Regions from separate parts of the Homo sapiens genome. Here all the other regions are linked to region 2. The links are contacts of gene promoters, found by promoter capture Hi-C in human tissues and cell types (Jung and others, 2019). All regions are on one chromosome and are shown on one strand. The core of a region is centred on a gene start or on the middle of the fragment in contact, and the rest is flanking DNA. Distances in the headings are between cores, read along the strand shown.

What was found. The method cuts DNA at HindIII sites, captures the fragments that hold promoters and counts their contacts. A contact is called where the count stands out against the background at its distance.
Region 1: a fragment that was not itself captured here is called in contact with the fragment with the promoter of HAS2 in region 2 in 2 of the 25 tissues and cell types used here (hippocampus and mesendoderm cells).
Region 3: a fragment that was not itself captured here is called in contact with the fragment with the promoter of HAS2 in region 2 in 2 of the 25 tissues and cell types used here (IMR-90 fibroblasts and dorsolateral prefrontal cortex).
Region 4: a fragment that was not itself captured here is called in contact with the fragment with the promoter of HAS2 in region 2 in 3 of the 25 tissues and cell types used here (aorta, dorsolateral prefrontal cortex and heart right ventricle).
Region 5: a fragment that was not itself captured here is called in contact with the fragment with the promoter of HAS2 in region 2 in 2 of the 25 tissues and cell types used here (mesendoderm cells and thymus).

Annotation. Positions count from the first base shown.
Region 1 is chr8:121,798,890-121,801,589 of GRCh38, forward strand. No RefSeq gene overlaps it. Among named protein-coding and RNA genes, the nearest start is that of LINC02855, 100 kb to the left of the region's middle. The HindIII fragment of the contact is 3,754 bases long and covers 1-2,700 here.
Region 2 is chr8:121,640,112-121,642,811 of GRCh38, forward strand. It overlaps HAS2 (hyaluronan synthase 2), which reads right to left and starts at 1,329. Exons shown (of 4, transcript NM_005328.3): 1 at 742-1,329. It also overlaps HAS2-AS1. RefSeq lists an enhancer at 1,988-2,611. The HindIII fragment of the contact is 13,134 bases long and covers 1-2,700 here.
Region 3 is chr8:121,481,830-121,484,529 of GRCh38, forward strand. No RefSeq gene overlaps it. Among named protein-coding and RNA genes, the nearest start is that of HAS2, 160 kb to the right of the region's middle. The HindIII fragment of the contact is 3,178 bases long and covers 1-2,700 here.
Region 4 is chr8:121,409,259-121,411,958 of GRCh38, forward strand. No RefSeq gene overlaps it. Among named protein-coding and RNA genes, the nearest start is that of HAS2, 230 kb to the right of the region's middle. The HindIII fragment of the contact is 3,904 bases long and covers 1-2,700 here.
Region 5 is chr8:121,779,410-121,782,109 of GRCh38, forward strand. No RefSeq gene overlaps it. Among named protein-coding and RNA genes, the nearest start is that of LINC02855, 83 kb to the left of the region's middle. The HindIII fragment of the contact is 5,746 bases long and covers 1-2,700 here.

The DNA.
Region 1 (2,700 bases), core at 120-2,619, 160 kb after region 2:
ATCCTCCACTTAAAATGAATTGCTCTTCATTCATTTAATTCATATTTTTTAAAAAAGAAAATATATGCATTGACACGTATATATGACACAACTGGAGAAGCTCATTTATAAAAACAAAAGTTATCACTGCCATGAGATTTTTCCAGAAAAAAAAAAAAGTTTGGTTTATGTAAATTAGCCAGTAGTTAAAGTGGGAAGATACTTACTCAGTTTTCTAAGGGAAATAAAATCAACACCTTAACTTTCTGTTTTTGGGTCTTTTGCAAATAAAAACAAAATGACTTGCAGAAAGAATTCTTCTCCTTCTTTTCCTTCTTTTATCTCTATCTTCCCTTCTTCTTAATTTCCTATAAACTTGGTTTCGTATTTGTATATGCCATTGTTACGTTTATTTTTATTTCTTTTTTTTAAAAAATATGTCATTTTGTTTTGTTTTGTTTCAATGTTATATTTCCAGGGTCTAGATCACCTAGTATCTAATAGCTGCTCAAAAATATTTGTTGAGTGAAAATGAGTAAATTAAGTAATACTGACTGTAGAAAATGTGAAAAATACCCGCCCCCCCCTCAGAAGAAGTATATGAAAGAACCAGAAAAGCCAGATTTTTATTGTGCTGGACTTTCCCTTCGTTTATCAATACCTGCACAAAACATGCCCTTAGGATTGTGACTGTCCTTAAGCAGTTTTGCATCTAGGTTTGTTCCTCTTTGAAGTCTACTAAGGAGCTGAGCAGAGCTAGAAAGTCTAACAGAAGCAAGCCAAGTAGAGGTAGACTTTAAAATGTAATTATCCTGGACTCCACGGGCTTTAAAAAAGTTCTTTTGTGGCTAGAAAATGAACGTTATTTATCCAAAAGGTTGCAGCTGTTAAATTCTCTTGAGAAAATACAAAGTCAAACCTATCCATGCCAGTTTTTTTTTTTTCTGATTGCCTAACTTCAATGATTCAGAGATAAAATCCCAAAATAGGCATTTATAAAGGCAAGAGTGAGAGAAATAAAAGACTCAGAACTGGGGTTGGTACTCAGTGTTGCTAGTTCTCGAACTACAAACCGCCAAGCTATTCTTCTTCTAATTTCCCCAGTTTGCCTGAGTAAGAGTCTTTTTTCCAGTCAAAACAGTCACAGACATTTTTGTATAATCTACTCTGTTCTGTCTCCATTGGTGGTAATTTCTAAAAGCCAGAATAACGAAAGCCCTGAATCAAATAATGCAACCAAAAAACTTTTAAGCCCTCCAATAAAGAGAGAAAACAAAAAGTAAGAAGAGAAAATGTATTTTCCCAGGAATGTCCACATCTCCACAGACTCCGTTTTCAAAGTGGATTTTCTTTGAATAGGGTTTGGATTTGGCAACAGCCTATTAGGATATAATGCTCTACTCACAATTCTTCAAGAAAAGATCTAAGGTTTTATAGTTTTCCCATTTTTCCCAGAGATGGGTAGAGCCAAGAAGAACGGGTGAAGGAAAGTGGGCAAAAGATTGTGAAAGTCGGAAAAAACTTGCTGGAACCTATCCAGTCATCTTCAAAGGATAACCTCTTCCAAACAGAGCAAACCTTCAGGGGAAGATTATGCAAAGCCCCTGCCTTCCAGCACCCCTGAAAGCCCACCACCCTAGTCCATTCAGATTTGAGGATTAAGAAAATTAGGGGAATGAATGAATCTATTTATCTATGGTCCATGTCAAGAATTGTTCTTCTGGGCCATTCTGGTTTGGATCCTGTGGCTTTTTTGGTGGTGTGATCGTTGCTTTTATGTTTTTTCAGGGGTGGGGGTGCATCTGCATTATCTGATAGTTCTGTGTTTATTTTTTTCCACAAAGATGCTTAATTGTGTAACTCCTGGCTAGGTTTCCCTAGCCAAATGATAGAAATCAGAGTTGGAAAAGACCTATTAGGTCATTTTTACCCTAACTCCTGCCAGTGAGAATTTTGCCTCTAATATGCTAGATGAAGTGTCCACCCCTTCCCTTGGGAGATTAGATTCTACAATTTAATTAGTTCACACTGCCAACATATTTTCTCTGACGTTCAATTTACAATTAATATCATTGTTTTTCTTAATTCAGTTCTCACAAATTATGTGTTTACTTTCTCTTATTGTCTTCCAACTTTAATCACTGATAAGCTTATTTTCTTATTTCTCCCCAAATATGCTCATTTATTAATTTTTTCTAGAATGTTCAGTTTATTTGTTAACATTTGTTATTTTTTGCACAACGCTGTATCTCTTTGATACAGAGATAATGACGGCTTCAAATTTCCCAACATGGCACATTAACAGGGATGTGTAGAGTACAATTAAGCAGAAAACCAAGACATGTTAATTTTTCCTTAAAATTCAGGCTTCATCAATATTTTGTTTCTATTTTCTGTAAGTTCCTGGCAGAGCAGTTAGTAGCCTGAGATATGTCGGCAATTCTCAGTGTCTCAGCTTTTCAGTTCTGTGTGTGTGCACGCGTGTGTGGTGTTTGTATGTGTCAAATTTTCTGCTGTGAAAACCCTGGCACAGATACCCAGATGAGATAAGGCAGGCAAAGATAAGACATAAGAAGGGAGGAAGAACACTATAATAATGAATTTAGGGACTGGAGAAACTCAGCTACCCACCAGGAAACTTTACTCACTGACAAGATTAACCCTTTTTAGGCTGACGTGAATCATTGTGGGCTGAGGCTGTCCAGTGTACCCATGTAGCAG
Region 2 (2,700 bases), core at 79-2,578:
CCTCCTCCCGCTCCTATCTGCGGGTGCCACCGCCTGCGTCAGGGACCCCTGGCCCGAGTAAGCCCAGACTGACGAGCCTGACACTTTAATGGGGTGCGGGAAGTGCAAAGGAGGGGAGGCCCGGGAAAGGGGGGAGTGGCCGAGAGGGGATGGTAGCTGCGAGGAGGTAGAGAAGGACCCTCCTTCTCCAGGGTCCCAGCTTGTCGGAGCTGGAAGCCCAGATTGCTTAACCCTTTGCATTCCCAGCAAGAAGCGACTTTTTCACTTAGAAGTAAAACGCGCTGGGCTATTCCAGTTTTTCTCCCCACAGTGTGTGTGTGTGTGTGTGTGTGTGGGAAAAAAAGAAGGGAAGGGGTGGGGCGGCTGTGCAGAATGCATTTTCCTTACATTGGGAATTCTTGTTTCCTAACTCTGGAGCCCCTCTGCTGCTCCGGAAGATGCAAAATGGAAAAGTACATCTGAGGACGTGCAGCCTTTCCCAGGCAGAGAGGCTACCTGTGTCCCCAGAAAGGCAGCGGATTTCTGGCGAGAGCCGCAGAAATGGGAAAAGAGGGCTATGTTGCTAAGCCTGACAGTGACCTGAAATATTCCCTGATCTTCAGTCTGTTGGAAATTTTTAAACTTCCAACTTTTCTATCGAAACTGGCTTAAAAATTTTAAAACAATTATAAGGATGTCTTCCTTCTCCCTGGCCTGTTGGAGGACCTTCATCCTTCACCAAAACGCGCCAGTGTAACGTACCTTGTTCAGCTCTTGGTCATAAAGTCGTCCTCAGCCTGTCTGTGTGGTCCCGGAGGGTCGGTGGCGGGCAGTTTCCAAAATTGAGGTAATAAGAGATCAGATGAATTTGAGACGACCGGCCAAAAAAAATAAGAAATTTAAAAACAACATTTAAAAAGGATAGGGGAGTCTTAAATGTTTGATTCTTCCCCACTTTAAAAAATAATTTCACTAATATTCTCTTTATGTTTCCGTTGCACTTCAGTCTAATTCTTAAAAAAATTATGCTTTAAAAATAAATTAACTTTTCTTTTTTCTTTTCTTTTCTTTTTTTTTTTTTTTTTTTTTTGGGCTTCAGTCTTTCTGCCCCCGATAACAGAAAATCTCTTTTTCGTCTTAAAAAAAAAAAAAAAAAAAAAAAAAGCCTGTGGAAGACTCAGCAGAACCCAGGAAGCGCAGAATTGGGAGAAAAGTCTTTGGCTGGGGCTGTTTCAAGTCTCTGGTTCAATGGGCTGCTCGAAGCCAGGACTGGGTAATTCTTTCCAGACGTCTTGACTTCTCCTTCCCCGCCGTTGTTGCCCTTCTGCCTCCTCCAACTTAAGGGGGTCTTAACAAGTGAGCTGGTGGGTGTTTTAATAGGGCGGCGGAGGGAGTGGGGGGGTGAGGGAAGTGGAGAGGGAGGTGTGGACTGGGGAACCCTGAGGGGAGGGAACTGGGAGCGCGGGCGGGCGGGCGAGCGGGAGGCGGGGAGGGGGAGAGGGAGAGAGAGAAATTGGCCATTCAAAGCCTTCTCTGAGCTACAGGCCGGTTCTAAACTCCAATGAATTCAATTAACTTGATTGCTAACGTGTGCAGAGAAATGCAAGACACATAGGGGGCCACCACCTGATTCCTTACTTTCCTCTGGCGGCGGAGGTGGGAGCCCTCGCCTCTTGGATTTCCCTGAACTCCCGCGTTACAAGTTCCCTCCAAGCGATAAACTCCCTGTGGCGCTGAAGTAATTTGTTTTAAAGCCAAATGGTGCCCTTCAGCTAAGTAACCGACCCAAGGAGGAACAGTTGGGAGGGGTGTGTGCACGTGTGTGTGTGTGTGTGTAAGTGTGTGCGTGTGTGTGTGTACCTGGAGCCTTCGACAGCCGGCTGGGACTCTAAAAAGATCGCGCTGGTCCACCACTTGTTAACCCTTTCTTCCCGCCAACTCAAAAGTTTCTGAGCTGACGTCAAGTGTCAAAGCCTTTCTCATAAAGAGGTTTCTGCCGTGGGTGGGCGGAAAACATAGAAAAGTAATTATATGTATATTTTTGCTCAATCTGGTCCCCTAACGTAAACATACTCAAACAGCGCGCATTAAAAATAAAATAATAAAAATTGTTTTCTGGAGGACTTATATTTAGCCATCTTGAAGGAAATGGCTTAACTGGCTTTTGCTTTTTGCAAGCCTTCTGCAAAGTTGACGAGGACAAATATGTCTTGCTTGGAGATGGCCTTTCCTCGTCGTTTTCACAATGCCCCAAGGCTGGGTAGAGTTCGTTTTTTGGTTACTCCTCCCCCCACCACTCCGCCTCCTTTCTTTCTCTTGGACCTTGCCAACAAGCCTGCTGATGACTGAAAATGGACAGTAGGTGGCACTGTTGAGGAAAAAATGAGAGTGACTTTACAAATTAACCAACTTGGTCTTGGGAGATTGCGCTGAAATTGTTATAGGGTAAAACAGATTTTTCTTTCTTTCTTTTTTCCTTCTTCCCCTTCCAAGGATCTTCTGAGGGGTGGACTTCTTTGGAACTCGACAGGACCTTGAAGACTGGGTTCTTAGTCCTTATCACATATATGGGCTATAATGAATAAGTCTAAACAGAAAAGTCGAATAAACTGGAAATGATGCTTTCATCACGTCGCACAAGGTGTAGTGTTGGGGGATGTGATTAGGGGTCAAGCATTTTAGTGCAATACCAGGTAGTCAGCCATCCCAGTCCCCAGGGGC
Region 3 (2,700 bases), core at 161-2,660, 160 kb before region 2:
AGATGGAGTCTCGCAGTTGCCCAGGCTGGAGTGCAATGGCGCGATCTCGGCTCACTGCAGGCTCCGCCCCCCGGGGTTCACCCATTCTCCTGCCTCAGCCTCCTGAGTAGCTGGGACTACAGGTTCCCGCCACCTCGCCCGGCTAATTTTTTGTATTTTTAGTAGAGACGGGGTTTCACCGTGTTAGCTAGGATGGTCTCGATCTCCTGACCTCGTGATCCGCCTGCCTCGGCCTCCCAAAGTGCTGGGATTACAGGCGTGAGCCCCCGCGCCCGGCCTAAATTCCCTTTTTTACCTAAGTTAGTCTGAATGAGTTGAGTGAGTTACTATCAAACTATCCCTAACTAAAAATCTATTAGGGCATTTCAATTAGAACTCAATCTCACAGTTCCTGAAACTGTTTTAAAATACTATGGTATGCTATAATATGTTAGCAAATATAGAAAAATAAATCACAGGCTAAAGTTAGACTTGCAAGCCATATACTGTTACTATACTTCATGAATTCTTCCCTCATCTATTAGCAAAATTATAGTTTTGTTTTAAGAAATAAATTTATTCCTGTGCATAAATTTTACACATTTTATTAAGAGGCCAGATTATTTAATTTCTCTAAATATTTCCTCTTTTCTTTTTTTTTTTTTTTTTTTTTTTTTTGAGACGGAAACTCGCTCTGTCACCCAGGCTGGAGTGCAGTGGCGCGATCTGGCTCACTGCAAGCTCCGCCTCTCGGGTTCATGCCACTCTCCTGCCTCAGCCTCCCGAGTAGCTGGAACTACAGGCACCCGCCACCACGCCCAGCTAATTTTTTGTATTTTTAGTAGAGACAGGGTTTCACCATGTTAGCCACGATGGTCTCAATCTACTGACCTTGTGATCCATCCACCTTAGCCTCCTAATGTGCTGGGATTACAGGCGTGAGCCACCGTGCCCGGCCTAAATATTCCTTTTTAAAAACTAAGTAAATAAGCAAAAACAATACACTCTTTTAATCAATAAATTTTACCAAAGTAGCCTGTGATTTGTAGAGTAGTATTGCTCATGCGCTTCTACTGTTAAAGAGGAAACATTTTTGAAGAGTCTATATAAACAGCCCCTAATTATTGGCTAGACACCCACAGAAGCCACCTGTGTCCCTTTAAGCTGAGCCTAAGCAATATTTGGAGACAGGACTGTTTTCTTGTGGGAATACTGGCCCAGTAATGGTGCATCTGACATTTTAATAGAACCTGAAAATATATGTTTTATATTAAATTCTACATTTTAAAATGCTGGCAGGCTATTATCAAAAAGACAAAAGGTAACAAGTGTTGGAGAGAATGTGGACAAAAGAGAACTCTTGTACACTGGTGGTGGGAATGTAAATTTGTACACTCATTATGGAAAATAATATGGAGGTTTCTCAAAAAAATTAAAAATAGAGTTACCATATAATTCAGCAATCCTTTTGCTGGGTATATAGTCAAAGGATATAAAACAATATGTCAAAGAGATATCTGCCCTCCCATATTCATTACAGTATTATTCACAATAGCCAAGATATGAGATCAACCTAAGTGTTCATTAATGGATGAATCGATAGAGAAAACTGGCTCTATATACACAATGGAAACTATGCAATCTTTTAAAAGGAGAAAATCATGTGACAGCATGGCTGAACCTGGAGGATACTATGTTAAGTGAAATAAGCCAGGCACAGAAAGACAAATACAACATGACCTGATTTATATATGGAGTGTAAAAAAATCCAACTCATAGAAACAGTAAAATGGTGGGTACCAGAGGCTGAGGGTTGGAAGATTTGAGGAGGTGTTGGTCAAAGGATACAAAAATTTCAGTGAGATAGGAGGAATAAGTTCAAGAGATCTGTTGTACGTTATGATGACTATAGTTAATAACAATGTATTACATATTTGAAAATTACTGAAAATCAATTTTAAGTGTGTCATCAAAAAAAGATAAGTATGTGAAGTAATACATGTGTTAAATAGCTTGGTTTAGCCATTTCACAATGTGTACATATATCAAGGCTTTACATTGTACACCATAAATATATATAATTTTTGTTAAATATAATTTCTTAAATAAGAATTTTAAAATAGATCTATATTCACTGGCAAAGATGCCATTTTGTATTAAGAGAAAAAAAGAAAAATCACATTGCGAAGCATGTTTCTATTTAATTAAAAATGCACACAAGAAAAAAATTAAATCAAATGCTAACAAATAATTGAATTCAAAATAAACACACACGCACACATAATTTTCATGCAAACAGACAAAAACTTCTGAAGCCCAATTTTGCCCCTTCAGCTATTGTGTCGTTACTTATGCCTTAAACTTTCATAATATGGCTTTTACTGATACTACTTGAGTATTTGGCTGCTAGGGTCCAAAAAAATTTCTGCGAGTTGCTCTAGGCCAAATAAAACTATGTTGAAAGTGGAGAATTAACATATTTGTGGGTACACATAAAAATCTGCAAGGCTATAAATACATCTGGTTCTGACATCAGCTATCAAATTACCCTTTTCACTAAAACATAAATATCATATGTTCCTACGTTTCTAATACTTTTATATGCATTATATCAAAAAAGTCAGAACTTCAAAATAATCTTCAGCCTAACATCCTAGTTTACATCCTCATAACCTCACACTTGGAATGAATCGGGAACTTCTAGCTAGTGCGTAGGTTTCC
Region 4 (2,700 bases), core at 116-2,615, 230 kb before region 2:
CACTCCATCCAGCCTGGACAACAGAGGGAGACTCCATCTCAAAAAAATAAATAAATAAAAATAAAAGTTTGAGAAGGTAATTCAGTCTTGCTTCTTACCTCCTTCTAGCCAGTTCCACTTGGTAGCATCATGACACAAGCATTATTTTATTAATAATTCAAGTGTGGAATAAGCTAAAGCTTCTTCCAGGCAGGAGGAGACAGCAGTTAGGCCAAGATAGAACAACTCAGAATTTCCTAAACTAGGATCTTTGGTCCTCTGGGGATCCCCAGGCGTATTCCCAAAGGTTCATGAGATTTTTCAATTTAGGAATTTCATATCAATGGTAAACTAAAACTATTTACATAAGCACATTTTTGACCACCCGATGGCAATCTCAAAATCAATCATTGCCCTTATATGGGAGAATCTTCATAGTGTTTTGGTTTGTTTTTTTGAGTATGTTATACCCAAGTAGTTCTACTTTATCATTGGCTTAAGTGAAAAAAAAATGGAGGAAGAATTACTGTGTAAACAGTGAATTTCTGCTAAGTGAGGGCCAAGTGACATCATGTTAGGGTTTTGCAGTGGTTGGAACAGAGCAAAGTGGTGGAAAAATTGACAGATCTCATGGCACACAGATGTATGGGTATGATGACCACAAGAGAACTTGAACCTTAGCTGTGAGTATGATGTTCACTTGTGAGTGGTTTTTAGTTTCAAGAGAACAACAACATCCATCACATTAAATAAATGTTAGAAAACTGAATTTAACTGTGTTGCATCTTTCACCTGCATTGAATTAGTAAATGTGTTTGAATGTTATAGCTTAAGTCATTTACATGCATAAGGAGTTATAAGCAGGTTTTGATTTGCACATATTTTAGCAACATGCTAATAATCATTTAAGGCAACACTGGTATTTATTAAACATAACTTTTGTTTCTTTTAAAAGGTATCTGTTAATTACTCAGGTTTGAAAATTGCTAAAATAATAAAAAGAACACAGGCTTTGGAATCAAATAAAACTGGGTGCAAGGCCTACTTCCTCCACTCCCTAAGTGTGTTACCATGGGCGAGTTGCTTGACTTTTCTAAGCCTTGGGTGTCTCGTCTTATTCATCTCTTCCTATGTGTAAGAAATGTTCAAGGTACAGAAACTATAATAATTCTTACTGTTAAAGCAATCCTATGAAATGGAAACTAATGCTATTTTTATTTACAGGTGAGAAAACTGAGACAGAAATCAAGCAATTTGTACAAAGTCACCCAACTAGTAAAACATGGGCCTATATAATCTGACTCCAGAGCTCAATCTTTAAAAGAAAAATTATGGGTACATAGTAGGTATATATATTTATGATGTACATAAGATATTTTGTTACAGGCATACAATGCATAATAATCACTCAGGGTAAATAGGGTATTCATTACCTCAAAAACGTATCATTTCTTTGTGTTACAAACATTCCAGTTACACTCATTTAGTTATTTAAAAATGTACAAAAAAATTATTGTTGAAGGTAGTCACCCTGTTGTGCTATCAAAGACTAGATCTTACCCATTTTATCTAACTATACTTTTATGCCCATTAACCATCCCCACTCCACTGCCCCCACTACCCTTCCCAGCCTCTGTTAACCATCCTTGTACTCTCTATCATGATGAGTTCAACTGTTTTAATGTTTAGCTCCCACAAATGAGTGAGAACATGCAAAGTTTGTCTTCTGTTCCTGGTTTATCTCACAGAGCATAATGTCATCCAGTTTCCTCCACGTTGTTGTACATGACAGGATCTCACTTTTTTTCTTTAGATAAGAGTCTCGCTGTGTCGCCAGGCTGGAGTGCAATGGTGCGATCTCGGCTCACTGCAACCTCCACCTCCCAAGTTCAAGCGATTCTTCTGCCTCAGCCTCCCAAGTAGCTGGGATTACAGGCGCACGCCACCACGCCTGGCTAATTTTTGTATTTTTAGTAGAGACAGGGTTTCACCATGTTGGTCAGGCTGGTCTCGAACTTCTGACCTCGTGATCCACCCGTCTCAGCCACCCAAAGTGCTGGGATTACAGGCGTGAACCACCGCACCTGGCCCGGATCTCACTTTTTAATGGCTGATTGGTACTCCGTTACGTATATATGTACTACATATCCATTCATCTGTTTTGTTTTGTTTTTTTGACGGAGTCTCACTGTGTTGCCCAGGCTGGAGTGTAGTGGCATGATCTCGGCTCACTGCAAGCTCTGCCTCCTGGGTTCACGCCATTCTCCTGCCTCAGCCTCCTGAGTAGCTGGGACGACAGGTGCCCGCCACCACGCCCGGCTAATTTTTTGTATTTTTAGTAGAGACGGGGTTTCACCGTGTTAGCCAGGATGGTCTCGATCTCCTGACCTCGTGATCCGTCCGCCTCGGCCTCCCAAAGTGCAGGGATTACAGGCGTGAGCCACCATGCCCCGCCCCATTCATCTGTTGATGTACACTTATGTTGCTTCTAGGTCTTGGCTATTCTGAACAGTGCTGCAATAGAGAGGGCACTGCAGATATCTCTTTGATATACTGTTTCCTTTCTTTTGGGTCTATACCTAGCAGTGGGATTACTGGATCATATGGTAGTTTTATTTTTAGTTTTTTGAGAAACATTCATACTGTTCTCTCTAGTGGCTACACTAATTTACATTCCTACCAACAGTATATGAAGCTTCCCTTTTCTCAAGATCCTCTCTA
Region 5 (2,700 bases), core at 164-2,663, 140 kb after region 2:
TCTGCAGAATTCTGGTACAAACACATCAACTGTACGCTATCTCTATGGCTGTTATGCATACGCATCTCTATGGCTTTGTACAAACACCCGTACCATGGCCTAGTCTTCTGCCTTTGGTTTGCTCAATATTTGGAGAAGGGTCCTTCTGTTCATCTTGTACTAATAGAACCAGTCAAGCCATTTTGTGGTGATTTCTAGCAAGAGACTAGTCTATTCTTCCTTACCTAGAGAAGTAAGAAATTTGATGTTTATTTAAAAATTATCATCTAGGTAAATAGATTTTTTTTTGGTGACATAGATATATCTCTTGAATAATTACAAAACAACTAAACAACCCCAAAAATAAATTTATGTGATTATATGATTAATCCTACCACTTCTATAAATGGCAGGACTTATAAGTGATTAAATCATTGTTTTAATAAGTGATGAATAGCATAAACTCACCATTCTTAGCCAGACTAAGAATGTAGTTATATATTTATGTCATAAGTAAGACAACTTAAGAATTACCATGAACTCCTATTCTAAATATTAGATAAATATATGAATAATAAATATATGAATACATTTCTTACGTATTTATCTTATCTTATGCCATGGCCCTTTTCTATACAAAGCTCTCTGTGTTTCATTTTCGGGTGCAGAACTTCTCCAGGAATGGAATTGAAGTCTATTTCTCTCCAAAGTTCTGATCACAGTGAACGTAATAAAAAAAAATTATTGAACACGTGGATCTAGTAATGAAACACTTGAAAGGCATTATAAAGTAGCACGAACATATATGAATGTTTCATTTTGCTAATGAACTAGATTTCTGAAAGATTCACTAGTAGTTCTTTAAATGCTGATTTAGGCTACTACATTGGTCTGTTCAAAAAAATTAACAAGATTAAATTTTTTAAAAAAGTAATTCTAAAACCTTACAGAAGAAAATTAGGAAAAATAATAAGAGAGCAATCATACACTGGTTAAATAAATTAGAGAATAACCATAAAATAGACCACTAAGAAACTGTTTAAAATGAGGTATTTCTATGTGACTGGACATGGAATAATGTTCATTATATATTGTGAATCAAGATAAGTTTCAGGAAAATATACTTAGTGCAAATGCTACCCTTTCATTTTCTCAGACCTTGGGATTGTCCCTGAGTCTTCTCTTTCTCTCACGTTCTGCTTTCAATATTTCAGGAGGGAATCTTTTTCTTTGGTTCTACTTTCTTTTTTTTTTGAGACAGAGTCTCGCTCTGTCGCCCAGGCTGGAGTGCAGTGGCACGATCTCAGCTCACTGCAAGCTCCGCCTCCCGGGTTCACACCATTCTCCTGCCTCAGCCTCCCAAGTAGCTGGGACTACAGGCGCCCGCCACCACACCCAGCTAATTTTTTGTATTTTTAGTAGAGATGGGGTTTCACCGTGTTAGCCAGGATGGTCTCGATCTCCTGACCTCGTGATCCACCTGCCTCAACCTCCCAAAATGCTGGGATTACAGGCTTGAGCCACCACTCCCAGCCACTACTTTCAAAGTATATCCAGAATTTGCTGTTGTCTCACACCTCCACTGCTACCACTCTGATCCATGACACCACCCCTCTATGCAATAGGCTCTTAACAGTTCTCCTTTCCTTTGCCTCTCTTTAGTCTGTTCTCAATTTACAGTTAAAGTAATTTCTTAAAACAAAGGTCATTATCATGTTTACTGGTTTGCTCAAATCCTCCACTGGCTCTCACCTCATGCAAAACTAAAGCCAAAGCTCCTACAATGCAGCACAATTGCTTCCATGATCTAGTGTCCTATTATCCCCTTGCACTTCTATTCTTGTTCTATTCTTCTAGTCTCACTCTTGCTCCGCCTGTCTCTTTTCTGGCCCTAAAATATGCCAGCCATTCCACCATAGGCCTATTTCATATATCTGGAATGATCTTATACCAGACATCCATGGGGCTAACTCGCTCACTTCCTTTACGTCTTTCTTTATATGTCACCGTTTCAGTGAAGCCTACCTCAATCACCCTGTTTTAAAATCGCAACCCATGTTCCCAGACTTATCCCTAGTGTCTCACACGTCTGTGTAAAGAGACCACCAAATAGGCTTTGTGTGAGCAACAAGGCTATTTCTTTCACCTGGGTACAGGCAGGCTGAGTCCAAAAAGAGAATCAGCAAAGGTGGTGGGATTATCTTTAGTTCTTATAGGTTTTGGGGATAGGCGGTGGAGTTAAGAGCAATGTTTTGTGGGCAGGGGGTGGATCTCACAAAGTACATCCTCAAGGGTGGGAGAATTACAGAGAACCTTCTTAAGGGTGGGAGGATTACAAAGAACCTTCTTAAGGGTGGGGAGAATTACAAAGAACCTTCTTAAGGGTGGGAGGATTACAGAGAACCTTCTTAAGGGTGGGAGGATTACAGAGAACCTTCTTAAGGGTGGGAGGATTACAGAGAACCTTCTTAAGGGTGGGAGAATTACAGAGAACCTTCTTAAGGGTGGGAGGATTACAGAGAACCTTCTTAAGGGTGGGAGGATTACAAAGAACCTTCTTAAGGGTGGGAGGATTACAGAGAAACTTCTTAAGGGTGGGAGGATTACAGAGAACCTTCTTAAGGGTGGGAGAATTACAGAGAACCTTCTTAAGGGTGGGAGAATTACAGAGAACCTTCTTAAGGGTGGGAGGATTACAGAGAACCTTCTTAAGGGTGGGAG